3 separate regions of the Homo sapiens genome follow, and all the other regions are linked to region 1. The links are contacts of gene promoters, found by promoter capture Hi-C in human tissues and cell types (Jung and others, 2019). All regions are on one chromosome and are shown on one strand. Each heading gives the region's core, a stretch centred on a gene start or on the middle of the fragment in contact. The rest is flanking DNA. Distances are from core to core; before and after follow the strand shown.

Region 1 (5,051 bases), core at 1,451-3,950:
AAAATATCTGGGACTCAACAAAAATGGGCCATTCAAACCTAATTATTACAGGTAACCTGGGGAGAAGCAAGTGAAAAGCTCTTTTTCCCAGTATTAAACCAAGCAGGCTAGCCTGCTTCTGACATAAAGATCAAATGTTGTACCTGATTTTGAAGAATACAAGAAATCTGTTCCAGGCCAGGCACGGTGGCTCACGCCTGTAATCCCAGCACTTTGAGAGGCCTAGGCGGATGGATCACTTGAGGTCAGGAGTTCAAGACCAGCCTGGCCAACATGGCGAAACCCTATCTCTTAGCCGGGTGTGGTGGCGGGCACCTGTCATCCCAGTTACTCAGGTGGCTGAGGCACGAGAATCACTTGAACCTGGGAGGCGGAGGTTGCAGTGAGCTGGGATCATGCCACTGCACTCCAGCCTGGGTGATGGAGTGAGACTCTGTCTTAAAAACAAACAAACAAACAAAAAAACTGTTCCAGTTAACAAGGTAGATAGAGAAATTGTGGGAGATATCAGGGAGTTAGGGTTTTTTTGAAATTTTGGAGCCTGGGCCTCACCCTAAGAGATTCTGATATATTTGGTCTGCGATGGGACCAAATTTACAAAACATTATTTTGTAAAACCTCCCCAGATTATTGTAATGTTTAGTCAGGGTTGAAAAAACACTGACTCATTCCTGGGAACAGGCGGTAACACCAGAAATGGCATTGTCAGAGACCCTGTGGAAGAATAAGGGAGACTGGTGCCCTGGGGAATGACTGCAGGGATCCCACCCAGGCTGGGGAGGGGCCCTGGAGAAGGTGCTCTGTTTCCGATTGTTTTTTGGAATTCTCATATGGAAGACATAAGTGTTAACCAATCACTCTCTCTCTTTACAGATACTAATGGACCATACTACCAAGGACCAGTCCACCTGAACCACACACTCTAAAGAAATATTTTTTAAGATAACTTTTATTTTCTTCTTACTCCTTTCCTCTTGATTTTTTTCCTATAATTTCATTCTTGTTTTTTCATCTCATTATCCAAGTTCTGCAGACCACACAGGAACTTGCTTCATGGCTCTTTAGATGAAATAGAAGTTCAGGGTTCCTCACTCTAGTCACTAAAGAAGGATTTTACTCTCCCAGCCCAGAAAGGTGATTCTTTCTTTACCATTTCTGGGGACTTTAGTCTTAATTAGGTACCTTATTAACAGGAAATGCTAAGGTACCTTCTCTGTGGAACAATCTGCAATGTCTAAATCGCCTTAAAAGAGCCCATTTCTTAGCTGCTGAAATCAGTGCTCTTTCACTTCTTCAGAGAAGCAGGGATGGTACCTACCCGGCAGGTAGGTTAGATGTGGGTGGTGCATGTTAATTTCCCTTAGAAGTTCCAAGCCCTGTTTCCTGCGTAAAGGTGGTATGTCCAGTTCAGAGATGTGTATAATGAGCATGGCTTGTTAAGATCAGGAGGCCCACTTGGATTTATAGTATAGCCCTTCCTCCACTCCCACCAGACTTGCTCATTTTTCGAGTTTTTAACTAGACTACACTCTATTGAGTTTAATTTTGTCCTCTAGGATTTATTTCTGTTGTCCAAAAAAAAAAAAAAAGAAAAGAAAAATTAAGGAGAATTTTTGGTGTTAATGCTGAGGAATTGCTTGAGTGGTTAGTTGTTACCAATTTCTCTTTTGAACCTTTGGAGCTAAGGATGCTGAGTCTAGAGAAATGCTAGTCTCAAGCCCTGTTAAGTCCCTCTGTTTCTAGCCCGTAGTTCATAGCATCAGTGAACTGGAGCCACAACAGCAAATTCTATCAGCTGTGTACCATACAGCTTGTGCTGAAGGCGAATTTCTTGAGCCATTACTCAGTATAAAGCACTGAGTTCTATCTTTAGGATTTATCTTTAAGAGCAAATTTCTGGTCAGCTGTGCTTCTGCAACCTAAAATATTTAAAGGGAGGTAGGTGTGGGCAGGAGGAGGAATGATAAATTGGGCCAGGGCAAGAAAAATCTAGCTTCATATAATTTGTCTGGGACTATACACCCTATATAATGTTAGTTTTACAGAAGTAATATGACTTTTGATTGCTACATACCACAAAGAGTTTATGAACTGAGATCATAAAGGGCAACTGATGTGTGAAGAAAGTAGTCAGTACATCCTGGCTCATGCTCTGAAAGAATATCCAGAGAGGCTCTCTCAAAGATCAGGGAGATGTATTCCCATGCCATGCACCCTGCTTCCCAGCATTTCTGCATGGTCAAGTGAGCTTTATGCTCATGAGCTTTAAGTATATAATTATCCAGGATTTTAAATCCTCAACTTGTTCTAGCTTGTGATCCCTCAAAGTTGGGTCATACGTTAGTGCTAGATACTAGAAATTTTCACTTTTCCACTGATCAGAGAGACAGACATTAAAAACAAAAATAGAAGAAAGGAAAGCTTTCACCCTGCAGCTTCTTAGCAGGGAACAATTGTCTTGCCAAAACTTTTTTCCCTTTTCTCTCCCATTTTCTTTTACCCAATCCCTTCTTACTCCTTGCCAGTGTGACCATGCTTTCTTCTCTGTAGATGTTAACAGTTAAGGCCTATTTTCCTCGGGCACTTAACCAACCAATCAGAACACCACATCTGTTAGGGGAGGTAACCTGGCCAACAGTGTATCCATCACGTTAGCCCTGCTGGAGGGAAGGGACCCACATTCACCTGCCCTCTGACCTGCCCCTTGATCCCATATCTATTACCGTGTCCATAGGAATAATAGGTAAGGGCTCTGTCTCTGTCAAGCCATGTAACAAAGGACACTGTTAAAAAAAAAAAAAAGTCTGGCATCAGAGGGAGCATGTGGAGAGCAACTTGGGAAGAACAAGTTCATTTTGTATTGAATGATTTTTAATGAATGCAATATTAATCCTTGCAGATGAGCAATAATCATTAAAATCGATTAAAATGATAAGACCTTATTGGCAGTCCGTATGTGTCATTCTTTGTTAAACAGCAAAACTTCATTAGAACCTGTTTTCTAGGGTGTGACAAGTTATAGGTCAGTAGCATTTAATAGAGATTTGTTGAGGGCCTAATATATAGAGGCTGGATACAGGATTCTTCAAAGTAATACCTGAAGTTTTGTATGCCTGCTCTGTGCCAAGCACCGGGCCTGGGTACTTTCACTCCTAACTTCCTTCAGGAAGCAGACTTGCTGCTTAAGCCTCAGGGTTCCTCATTTGCATAGTCCTTCTAAGACCTAATTTCTGAAGAATGCCCCCAAAGTTATGTAAGCTTCAGCCTCCTCCCACACCTGTATCCATTTCTGAAGTGGTCTCAGTGTCTTTTTTTTTTTTTTTTCTCTTTATTTTTTTGAGACAAGGTCTCACTGTCACCCAGGTTGGAGTGCAGTGGCTTGATCTCAGCTCACTGCAACTTCTGCCTTCCGGGCTCAAGTGATCCTCCCACCTCAACCTCCCAAGTAGCTGGGACCACAGTGTCAGCTAATTGTTTGTATTTTTGGTAGAGATGGGGTTTCGCCATGAAATCTAGGCTGATCTCAAACTCCTGGGCTCAAGTGATCCTCCTGCCTCTGCCTCCCAAAGTGCTGGGATTACTGGCCAGTGTCTTCTGATGTAAGAAAGTATTTATCTTGGTCAGTTTCTGCTGCTCCAGCAAAATCCTGAGACTGAGTAATTTATAAAGAACAGAAATTGATATTCTCACAGTTGGAGGCTGGGAAGTCCAAGGTCAAGTCGTTGGCAGATTTGGTGTCTGAAGAGGGCTGCTGCCTGCTTCCAAGATGGTACCTCTTATGCATCCTCATATAGCAGAAGGTAGAAGGGCAAAAAGGACCTAACTATTACCTCATATATGCCAAAGTCTGTTTTAGATACTGGGGATACATCAGTTTAAATCAGATGATCTCTTCCTTTGTGGTGTTTACGTAAAATTCCAACAAGATCCAAATTCCTTCCCTTTTTCCTTTACCCACAATTTGGCCATTAGGTAAGACAGAGCAAGCTAGGGATTCATGTGGATTTGCAGCCTGTGAGTGTGGGTGGTATCCTTGTGGGAACTGGGGATGTAGCTTGGTACAAGGAGTCAGATCCCAAGTGGCGTGGGGAATGCATCTATGCAGGGGATGAATGGCAATGGCAGATTAGTTAGGGATAAGGGATTTGATCACTGTACGTGAAAATATTAAGGGTAGCGGAAGCCAGCTGTCTCATTTTGGAGGAAGGTGTTACACATTGGAAAGGGAAAACACTAGAATGAACTCTGCTGTTGGGTTTGAATAGGAGATGATAGTGTGAAGTCATAAATATCAACCTAGTTAAAGAAATACAGATGTCAATGTACGTGTGTGTGTGTGTACAAACACTCCCTAGCTCTCTCTACTAAGCAAGCCTTGGAGCAGCAGTTCCCCTCTTCCCCCAGTGCACATACCTGACCTCGAGGTCTAGGCACTACATTCTCCACCGAAAGAAGCCAGGACTCGTTGGAGAGATGACTGATTCCATGGCAGAGCAAAAAAAAGTACAAGATAAACCAGAAAGCAAGGAAGGCCTTAAAAAAGGATACATAAGCCAGCTGTAAGGGATTTACATGGGGTAAATCTGAGACAACCTGAGCATCAGCATAGTAATGATTTGTAATCCATTGAACAAAATAGAAAACTATGACTCTGCTAATAGAAATGAATGAGTAAGTAAACAGAAGTTTAATGAGGAATTGTATATGTATATACTTTTTTTCTAATTTATTTATTTATTTTTGAGATGGAGCTTCACTCTGTCGCCCAGGCTGGAATGCAATGGCATGATCTTGGCTCACTGCAAACTCTGCCTCCCGGGTTCAAGCGATTCCTGTGCCTCAGCCTCCCGAGTAGCTGGGATTACAGGTTTCCGCCACCACACCTGGCTAATTTTTGTATTTTTAGTAGAGATGGGCTTTCACCATGTTGGCCAGGCTGGTCTTGAGCTCCTGACCTCAGGTGATCCACCTGCCTCAGCCTCCCAAAGTGCTGGGATTACAGGCGTGAGCCACTGTGCCTGGCCTATGTATACTTTCAAAGTAGCCTTCCA
Region 2 (5,051 bases), core at 650-3,149, 340 kb before region 1:
TTAAAGGTCTATCATCTATTTCCATATGTCCATTATTATTTGCAATATCCTTTAAAGCAGTCAACCCCAGGCTAATCCATTGCACAACTCTTTTGAAAGTCTTCCTTCTACCTTGAAAGAAGAAAGTTGGCAGGTTGGACATTGTTCTCGTGGAGGTTGTACCATGGGTCACATATCACGGTGTGACTTCAAAGGCCACTGGAGCCACCGTCTCATACTGAAGAACACACATGGGTCAGGAGCCAGGTCCAGGTCCGGAATGGTGGATCTGGAGAGGGGAGGGTCCCTGCCTGTGGTCCTGTGGGGAGCCCTCAGGCTCCTCTCTGGCCACCATCCTCTGACCTCCCTCCTCAGCAGGACAGGGTTCTGGCTTCTCTGAGGGACAGGTTCTGTGGCAGGCCAGGCGTCACTAACACAGGCCTCCATAACAACTGTTTCAGTACTGACTGAGTGGTGAAGTTAAATATTAAAAGCTGAAAAAAGCCAGTACCTTTATACAGAGGCTGGATGTAACAAAAGCCCACCAAGAGTTTTGCTTAGGCCTTTCCTGGGCCTTAAAGCATGACAAAACAATGAAGGAATTCTTAACAGGACCTATTTAGAATTAAACAAGTTTTATTGTGAGTCTGAAGAAACTCCCCAGGCCTCCACAAACAAGTTTATTGGGCGTCTGAAGGAACTCCCCAAACCTCCGTGATTTAGCAGGAGACAAGATAAGGGTAATCATCCCCCGCACCTGGACCCATTTAGATTAAATAAATAGACTGAGGCTCCAGAATAAGGTCCTCAGGACCCAGACCTCAGTTACAGATTAAAGAAGTTAATCACTTATGTCTTTAGATGAATGCACACTTACTTGTAGACATATACCTTAGAAGGTATATATGCTCTGGAAAACTTTGTAATATTGAGTTGGTCTGGTGGTAATTTCTAGGCCTTCTCCCTGTTACCGGTTGCAGAAATAAAACCTCTCTTCCTCCCCATTTGATCTGCATCTCGTTATTGGGCCTAGAGAAATAGCAGCCGGACCCTCAGTTTGGTCCGGGAAGTTCTTCCATCCTCCCTCGCCTGCTCTCTGTGGCCACTGCACTCACTGTTGCTGTTGCTGTTCCGGTCTCTGTGAGGTTCACCTAGTGGACTGGCTGGACATTTCTAGGGGGCACCTCAGATACCTCACCAACTTGCTGGATCTGATCCTTGGATTTCGATTCATAAATTGTGCCAAAATACGAAGTGGCTAATTTACACAGTACTTAGCCAGATGACCGAAGGACTCAGTACCCGAGGGCCCCTAACAGAAAACACAGACCACATTTCCTTTACTCTGGCCCTTTTCCTGGGGGTCCTTCCTATACCACTGACACTGTTCCTGTGTAGGCGGGGCTAGAGGGGAGACTAAGCCCTGGGAGTAGCTTTCGGATCAGAGGAAGTCCTGCTCTTACAGTGACAGGGGCTGAATTAAATTCCCAGGTTGGGGCCACCACTTTTTAGTCTGACCCCTGCAGCCGGAGTCTCCCAGAGCCCTTGGGAACTCGGCAGCGGAGAGAAGGCTGAGGGACACCGCGGGCAGGGAGGAGAAGGGAGAAGAGCTTTGCTCCGTTAGGATCTGGCTGGTGTCTCAAGCGCACAGCCAAGTCGCTGTGGACCTAGCAAGGGCTGGATGGACTCGTGGAGCCTCAGGGCTGGGTAGGGAAGCTGGCGAGGCCGAGCCCCGCCTTGGGCTTCTGGGCGCCCTGACTTCGCTCCCGGAACCCTCGGGCCTGGGAGGCGGGAGGAAGTCTTACTGAGTGCAGCCCCAGGCGCCCTCTCCCGGGCCTCCAGAATGGCGCCTTTCGGGTTGTGGCGGGCCGAGGGGCGGGGTCGCAGCAAGGCCCCGCCTGTCCCCTCTCCGGAGCTCTTATACTCTGAGCCCTGCTCGGTTTAGGCCTGTCTGCGGAATCCGCACCAACCAGCACCATGCCCATGATACTGGGGTACTGGGACATCCGCGGGGTGAGCGAGGGTCCGCTGGACGGTGGGACGAGGGCGCAGGGGAGGGAAGTGCGAAGCAGCTGCGGGACGGACTCTAGGGACCGTTCCTCTTCAGGGCTGCCCGCCTCAGAAGGGCCTGTGCATGCCGCTGTGTGTGTGTTGGGGGTGTGGGCGGGTAGAGGAGGCAACGGGTACGTGCAGTGTAAACTGGGGGCTTCCCTGGTGCAGACAAAGTCAGGGACCCTCCATCTCTGACGCGACCTGCGGGCCATCTCTCCCAGCTGGCCCACGCCATCCGCCTGCTCCTGGAATACACAGACTCAAGCTATGAGGAAAAGAAGTACACGATGGGGGACGGTAATGGCACCCTCGTGTTCGGGCTCTGCCCACTCACGCTAAGTTGGCACCAAGCAACCCATGGTGGCCACCTGTGGCTGCCTCTGCAGGCCTCCCCTGCTGGAGCTGCAGGCTGTCTCTTCCCTGAGCCCCGGTGAGGGAGCCCTCTGGCCTTGCAAGGCAGAATGCTGGGGTGGGATGCTGGGCCCCCTGTCTAATTGGGACGGGTGTCCCTCAGGGCTTGCCTAAACCCTGGAAGCCTTAGCTGTGTGGGGTCCAGAGCCCTCAGCGGGATTCTTTGTCCCTGAACCCTGGGATGTGGGACTGAGTGGTCAGATTCTAGATCCACCTGTCTCAGGGATCTTGCCACTGGCTCCGTGGGAGGGTCCCCGGGAAGGAGGGCTGGGCTCTGGGGAGGTTTGTTTTCACTTCTTCTTCCCCACCACAGCTCCTGATTATGACAGAAGCCAGTGGCTGAATGAAAAATTCAAGCTGGGCCTGGACTTTCCCAATGTAGGTGCAGGGGAAGGGGCGGTTTTGGGGGAAAGTGCAACGTGTCTCTGACTGCATCTCCTCTCCCCAGCTTAGAGGTGTTAAGATCAGGAGTCTTCTGCCCAATTCCTCTCACTCCTGGCTGTCTAAACAGTCCTTCCATGATGTTCTGTGTCCACCTGCATTCGTTCATGTGACAGTATTCTTATTTCAGTCCTGCCATGAGCAGGCACAGTGAGTGCCCGGTCTCCTCTCTGCTCTTGCTTATGGGAAGGGGATGCTGGGGAGCCTGGTGGCCCAACTGAGCTTCGCCGGTTTCCCATCCATCCAGCTGCCCTACTTGATTGATGGGGCTCACAAGATCACCCAGAGCAACGCCATCTTGTGCTACATTGCCCGCAAGCACAACCTGTGTGAGTGTGGGTGGCTGCAATGTGTGGGGGGAAGGTGGCCTCCTCCTTGGCTGGGCTGTGATGCTGAGATTGAGTCTGTGTTTTGTGGGTGGCAGGTGGGGAGACAGAAGAGGAGAAGATTCGTGTGGACATTTTGGAGAACCAGACCATGGACAACCATATGCAGCTGGGCATGATCTGCTACAATCCAGAATTTGTGAGTGTCCCCAGTGAGCTGCATCTGACAGAGTTTGGATTTGGGGCCAGGACTCTTGCATTCCTGCACACACTGGTCTTAAGTCCCTGGTACCATTCATCCTCCAAGTGCTTTCCCATACTATCAGCAGTTATTCTCACGACTCCAATGTCATGTCAACAAAAGCAGAGGCAATTCCCACCAACCTTAGGACACGATCCAGGCATCCCAGGGTAGAAATTCAGTTCCTGTATGGTAAAGTTTGTGTTCAGAATCTCCTTCATCAGCTCTGGCCTCTGACTTCTGTCCTGGGTCATTTCTGTCAGCCAGTTCACATCACCTGCCTGCTCCTAGAATATGCAGACTCAAGTAGAAGACTCAGGAATGTAATGGCACCCTCGAATTGCATCTTCTCCTCAACAGTTTTCTGAGTGCTGTCATTGACATGCACAGGGATCTGCGCATTTTCATAACAGACAGCTCAGAGGCAGTCAGAGGGCCTTTATTCCTCTCCCTCCTTCCTTTCAACTTGAACTTCTCATCTCCCTGGAAACTAGTCAATGTTCATTGTTTTCTTCTGCCACCCCATTAGAAGGAACTTTCTACTTTCCCTGAGCTCCCTTAGTTCTTTGCATCCTTGATTCTGCTGGTCTGGATCCAGAGGCTGCCAGGTGCTTGGGCGCTCCTGGGGCTGACCCAGAGGCTATTGGGAGGTCAGTGAGGACAGATTCAGGGACAGCATCTCATTCCTCTCTGCCTTCTGATCAGTTTAGATAGGGTCTGGCACTCAGTCAGAGTCTAATAAATGCTGATGTATCCAATTGAAGCCTGGGCACTGCCCCAGTTCCAGCTTGGGGAAGATGGCTGCTTGCCCATGGCCAGCCTGGGCCGTCCACAGCCCCGGGGAGGCCACGTCTGTGCAGGGAGCTTTTGTCCGAGGGTGGTGACAGCTGTTTTCTGCCTCAGGAGAAACTGAAGCCAAAGTACTTGGAGGAACTCCCTGAAAAGCTAAAGCTCTACTCAGAGTTTCTGGGGAAGCGGCCATGGTTTGCAGGAAACAAGGTAAAGGAGGAGTGATATGGGGAATGAGATCTGTTTTGCTTCACGTGTTATGGAGGTTCCAGCCCACATATTCTTGGCCTTCTGCAGATCACTTTTGTAGATTTTCTCGTCTATGATGTCCTTGACCTCCACCGTATATTTGAGCCCAAGTGCTTGGACGCCTTCCCAAATCTGAAGGACTTCATCTCCCGCTTTGAGGTGATGCCCCCATCCTCCTTTCTCTTTGATGCCCCTTGTTCCGTTACCTCCTTTCAGATGTTTTCCCAGTCCTGGAGCTACACACAGAATAACTCGCATGTATTGAGTACTGGTTTCATGCCACGAACCGTGCCCAGCACATTATACCTATTGTGTGAAATTTGAATTTTATAACATTCCAGTAAGGTAACAGAATTATCTCGCCCATTTTAGAGATAAGGAAACTAAGAATGAGAGGGTCAGTCCTTTGCTCAGGGTCCCAGAGCTAGTGGAGGCTGTGCTGGGCTCCCTGTGAGCCTCTGGATCTATGGGTGGCAGTCAGGGCTCTCCCATTTGTGACAGAAGAAAAAGCCTTAGGCTTCACCTAGCCTGGGTTTCACAGCCCAGGACACTTTGGAAGAGGC
Region 3 (5,051 bases), core at 2,471-4,970, 310 kb before region 1:
CCGGACCAGCCAAAGAATCCTGTGTCAAAACCGAGAGAACGAATAAGCCTTCATCACCATGGCACATTTATATAAAAAGAAAGGGAGAGATGTTGCGGGAAGTCAGGGACCCCGAATGGAGGGACTGACTGGAGCCGCGGCAGAGGAACATAAATTGCAAATATTTCATTTTAATATGGACATTTATCAGTTCCCAAATTATTACTTTTTACATTTCTTACGCCTGTCTTACTTTAATCTCTTAATCCTGTTATCTTCATAAGCTGAGGATATATGTCACCTCAGGACCACTGTGATAATTGTGTTAACTGTACAAATTGATTGTAAAACATGTGTGTTTGCACAATATGAAATCAGTGCACCTTGAAGAAGAACAGAATAACAGTGATTTTTAGGCAACAAGAGAAGACAACCATAAGGTCTGACTGCGTGCAGGGTCAGGCAAAATAGAGCCATATTTTTCTTCTTGCAGGGAGCCTATAAATGGACATGGAAGTAGGGAAGATATTGCTAAATTCTTTTCCTAGCAAGGAATATTACTATTAATACTCTGGGAAAGGAATGCATTCCTGGGGGGAGGTCTATAAACGGCCGCTCTGGGAATGTCTGTCCTATGCAGTTGAGACAAGGACTGAAGTACACCCTGGTCTCCTGCAGTACCCTCAGGCTTACTAGGGTGGGGAAAAACCTGGCCCTGGCAAATCTGTGGTCAGACTGGTTCTCTGCTCTTGAACCCTGTGTTCTGTTGTTTAAGATGTTTATCAAGACAATACGTGCACTGCTGAACATAGACCCTTATCAGGAGTTCTACTTTTGCCCTTGTCCTGTTTCCTCAGAAGCATGTGATCTCTGTTCTGTTTTTTGCCCCTTAAAGCATGTGATCTTTGTACCTACCCCCCGTTCGTACACCCCCTCCCCTTTTGCAATCCTTAATAAAAGCTTGCTGGTTTTGAGGCTCGGGCCGGCATCACGGTCCTACTGATATGTGATGTCACCCCTGGCGGCCCAGCTGTAAAATTCCTCTCTTTGTACTCTTTCTCTTTATTTCTCAGCCAGCTGACACTTATGGAAAATAGAACCTATGTTGAAATACTGGGGGCAGTTTCCCCGATAGCCTTGCTGAGGAAATTAAATTTATGTTCAAGTGCTATTTCTTTATGGAACCAAGGAACAAGTATTTCAAACAATACTAATGTAACAGTACTGGTTCTATGTGTTTCAAAATTATTATTCTCATGAGTGTTAGCTTTCTTAAAAAATCGTTTTTATCAATTGGATCTAGACATCTTATCTTTCACAGCTCAAGACCCATTAACTCAAAATCATAAACTCTTAATGCATAATGAGAAATATAATGATTCCTAGGGCCAGGCACTTGTGTCTGTGCTGGTGCTATTGCCTCAATGCAGGAAAATCTATGTGAGAATTCACTGTGAGGCCAAAACTGCTTCCTAAACATGGATACCTGCCAGGTATCTGAGCTGGGAGTACTGCCCAGGTCTGGATGGGTGGGGAGTGTTTGCAACAAGGACTGTGCCTTGCCAGCCTCAGTGACACAGTGTCCAAGTGCCCCAACTTAGCAGCCACCTGCTGACCACCTGATTTCTGTGGCCTAATAGGGATGTGATGAAGTCTACCTGTTTACTCAACCCCAAACCACACATTATCCAGGTGGTTTGAAACTTTTTTGATATACTGGGTTCATCCTCTGGAGTCCTAACAATGTTTTAGCTAATTTACAAAAAAACAAAAACAAAAACAAAAAACAAAAAACTACTTTTTTTGCAGCACAACAGCCTGGTTTACATTGCAAAATGATTTCTCATTAAAGGTCTATCATCTATTTCCATATATCCATTATTATTTGTAATATCCTTTAAAAAAAGCAGTCAACCCCAGGCTAATCCATTGCACAACTCTTTTGAAAGTCTTCCTTCTACCTTGAAAGAAGAAAGTTGGCAGGTTGGACATTGTTCTTGCGGAGGTTGTACCATGGGTCACATATCACGGTGTGACTTCAAAGGCCACTGGAGCCACCGTCTCATACTGAAGAACACACATGGGTCAGGAGCCAGGTCCAGGTCCGGCATGGTGGATCTGGAGAGGGGAGAGTCCCTGCCTGTGATCCTGTGGGGAGCCCTCAGGCTCCTCTCTGGCCACCATCCTCTGACCTCCCTCCTCAGCAGGACAGGGTTCTGGCTTCTCTGAGGGACAGGTTCTGTGGCAGACCAGGTGTCACTAACACAGGCCTCCATAACAACTGTTTCAGTACTGACTGAGTGATGAAATTAAATATTAAAAGCTGAAAAAAGCCAGTACCTTTATACAGAGGCTGGATGTAACAAAAGCCCACCAAGAGTTTTGCTTAGGCCTTTCCTGGGCCTTAAAGCATGACAAAACAACGAAGGAATTCTTAACAGGACCTATTTAGAATTAAACAAGTTTTATTGTGAGTCTGAAGAAACTCCCCAGGCCTCCACAAACAAGTTTACTGGGCATCTGAAGGAACTCCCCAAACCTCCATGATTTAGCAGGAGACAAGATAAGGGCAATCATCCCCCGCACCTGGACCCATTTAGATTAAGTAAATAGACTGAGGCTCCAGAGTAAGGTCCTCAGGACCCAGACCTCAGTTACAGATTAAAGAAGTTAATCACTTATGTCTTTAGATGAATGCACACTTACTTGTAGACATATACCTTAGAAGGTATATATGCTCTGGAAAACTTTAATTTTGAGTTGGTCTGGTAGTAATTTCCAGGCCTTCTCCCTGTAACTGGTTGCAGAAATAAAACCTCTCTTCCTCCCCATTTGATCTGCATCTCGTTATTGGGCCTAGAGAAATAGCAGCCGGACCCTCAGTTTGGTCCGGGAAGTTCTTCCATCCTCCCTCGCCTGCTCTCTGTGGCCACTGCACTCACTGTTGCTGTTGCTGTTCCGGTCTCTGTGAGGTTCACCTAGTGGACTGGCTGGACATTTCTAGGGGGCACCTCAGATACCTCACCAACTTGCTGGATCTGATCCTTGGATTTCGATTCATAAATTGTGCCAAAATACGAAGTGGCTAATTTACATAGTACTTAGCCAGATGACCGAAGGACTCAGTATCCAAAGGCCCCTAACAGAAAACACAGACCACATTTCCTTTACTCTGGCCCTTTTCCTGGGGGTCCTTCCTATACCACTGACACTGTTCCTGTGTAGGCGGGGCTAGAGGGGAGACTAAGCCCTCGGAGTAGCTTTCGGATCAGAGGAAGTCCTGCTCTTACAGTGACAGGGGCTGAATTAAATTCCCAGGTTGGGACCACCACTTTTTAGTCTGACCCCTGCAGCCGGAGTCTCCCAGAGCCCTTGGGAACTCGGCAGCGGAGAGAAGGCTGAGGGATTCTGCGGGCAGGGAGGAGAAGGGAGAAGAGCTTTGCTCCGTTAGGATCTGGCTGGTGTCTCAAGCGCACAGCCAAGTCGCTGTGGACCTAGCAAGGGCTGGATGGACTCATGGAGCCTCAGGGCGGGTTGGGGAAGCTGGCGAGGCCGAGCCCCGCTTTGGGCTTCTGGGCGCCCTGACCTCGCTCCCGGAACCCTGGGGACTGGGAGGCGGGAGGGGGCTTATTGATTCCAGCCCCGGGCGCTCGCTCGGGGGCCTACAGAATGGCGTGTTTCGGGGTTGTGGCGGGCCGAGGGGCGGGGTCGCAGCAAGGCCCCGCCTGTCCCCTCCTGGGCCTCTCAAAGTCTGAGCCCCGCTCCGCTGATGCCTGTCTGCAGAATCCGCACCAACCAGCACCATGCCCATGACTCTGGGGTACTGGGACATCCGTGGGGTAAGCGAGGGTCCTCTGGTGGGTGGGACAGGGGGCGGAGGCGGGGATGTGTGGAGTAGCTGCAGGACTGGCTCTAGGGACCGTTCCTCTTCAGGGCTGCCCGCCTCAGAAGGGCCTGTGCATGACGCTGTGTGTGTGTTTGGGGGTGGGGGCGGGTAGAGGAGGCGACGGGTACGTGCAGTATAGACTAGGGGCTGGCCTGGTGCAGAGAAAGTCACCAAGTCAGGGACCCTCCATCTCTGACCCGAGCCGCGGGCCATCTCTCCCAGCTGGCCCACGCCATCCGCTTGCTCCTGGAATACACAGACTCAAGCTATGTGGAAAAGAAGTACACGCTGGGGGACGGTAATGGCACCCTCGTGTCCGGGCCCTGCCCACTCACGCTGAGTTGGCACCAAGCAACCCATGGTGGCCACCTGTGGCTGCCTCTGCAGGCCTCCCCTGCTGGAGCTGCAGGCTGTCCCTTCCCTGAGCTCCCGTGAGTGAGCCCTCTGGCCTTGCAAGGCAGAATGCTGGGGCGGGATGCTGGACACCCTGTCTAATTGGGTTGGGTGTCCCTCAGAGCTTCCCTAAACCCTGGAAGCCTTAGCCGTTGTGGGGTCCAGAGCCCTCAGTGGGATTCTTTCTCCCTGAACCCTGGGATGTGGGACTGAGTGGTCAGATTCTAGATCCACCTGTCTCAGGGATCTTGCCACTGGCTCCTTGGGAGGGTCCCCGGGAAGGAGGGCTGGGCTCTGGGGAGGTTTGTTTTCACTTCTTCCCCACCACAGCTCCTGACTATGACAGAAGCCAGTGGCTGAATGAAAAATTCAAGCTGGGCCTGGACTTTCCCAATGTAGGTGCAGGGGAAGGGGCGGTTTTGGGGGAAAGTGCGACGTGTCTCTGACTGCATCTCCTCTCCCCACCTTAGAGGTGTTAAGATCAGGAGTCTTCTGCCCAATTCCTCTCACTCTTGGCTGTCTACACAGCCCTTGCATGATGTTCTGTGTCCCAGCTCATTTATTAGTGTGACAGTATTTCTATCTCAGGCCTGCCATGAGCAGGCCCTGGTCTCCTCTCTGCCCTTGCATATGGGAAGGGGATGCTGGGGAGCCTGGTGGCCCAACTGAGCTTCCCCGGTTTCCCATCTATCCAGCTGCCCTACTTGATTGATGGGGCTCACAAGATCACCCAGAGCAATGCCATCCTGCGCTACATTGCCCGCAAGCACAACCTGTGTGAGTGTGGGTGGCT

Evidence for each region. The method cuts DNA at HindIII sites, captures the fragments that hold promoters and counts their contacts. A contact is called where the count stands out against the background at its distance.
Region 2: the fragment with the promoter of GSTM1 here is called in contact with a fragment that was not itself captured in region 1 in 2 of the 25 tissues and cell types used here (liver and lymphoblastoid cells).
Region 3: the fragment with the promoter of GSTM5 here is called in contact with a fragment that was not itself captured in region 1 in 4 of the 25 tissues and cell types used here (IMR-90 fibroblasts, lymphoblastoid cells, mesenchymal stem cells and 1 more).

Annotation. Positions count from the first base shown.
Region 1 is chr1:110,020,801-110,025,851 of GRCh38, forward strand. AHCYL1 (adenosylhomocysteinase like 1) reads left to right here. Exons shown (of 17, transcript NM_006621.7): 16 at 1-51; 17 at 874-2,942. The coding sequence ends at 880. Among named protein-coding and RNA genes, the nearest start is that of STRIP1, 11 kb to the right of the region's middle. The HindIII fragment of the contact is 6,125 bases long and covers 1-5,051 here.
Region 2 is chr1:109,685,918-109,690,968 of GRCh38, forward strand. GSTM1 (glutathione S-transferase mu 1) reads left to right here and starts at 1,900. Exons shown (of 8, transcript NM_000561.4): 1 at 1,900-1,992; 2 at 2,253-2,328; 3 at 2,756-2,820; 4 at 3,131-3,212; 5 at 3,308-3,408; 6 at 4,354-4,449; 7 at 4,537-4,647. The coding sequence starts at 1,957. RefSeq lists an enhancer at 1,950-1,999. The HindIII fragment of the contact is 14,943 bases long and covers 1-5,051 here.
Region 3 is chr1:109,708,531-109,713,581 of GRCh38, forward strand. GSTM5 (glutathione S-transferase mu 5) reads left to right here and starts at 3,721. Exons shown (of 8, transcript NM_000851.4): 1 at 3,721-3,818; 2 at 4,088-4,163; 3 at 4,589-4,653; 4 at 4,954-5,035. The coding sequence starts at 3,783. The HindIII fragment of the contact is 7,760 bases long and covers 392-5,051 here.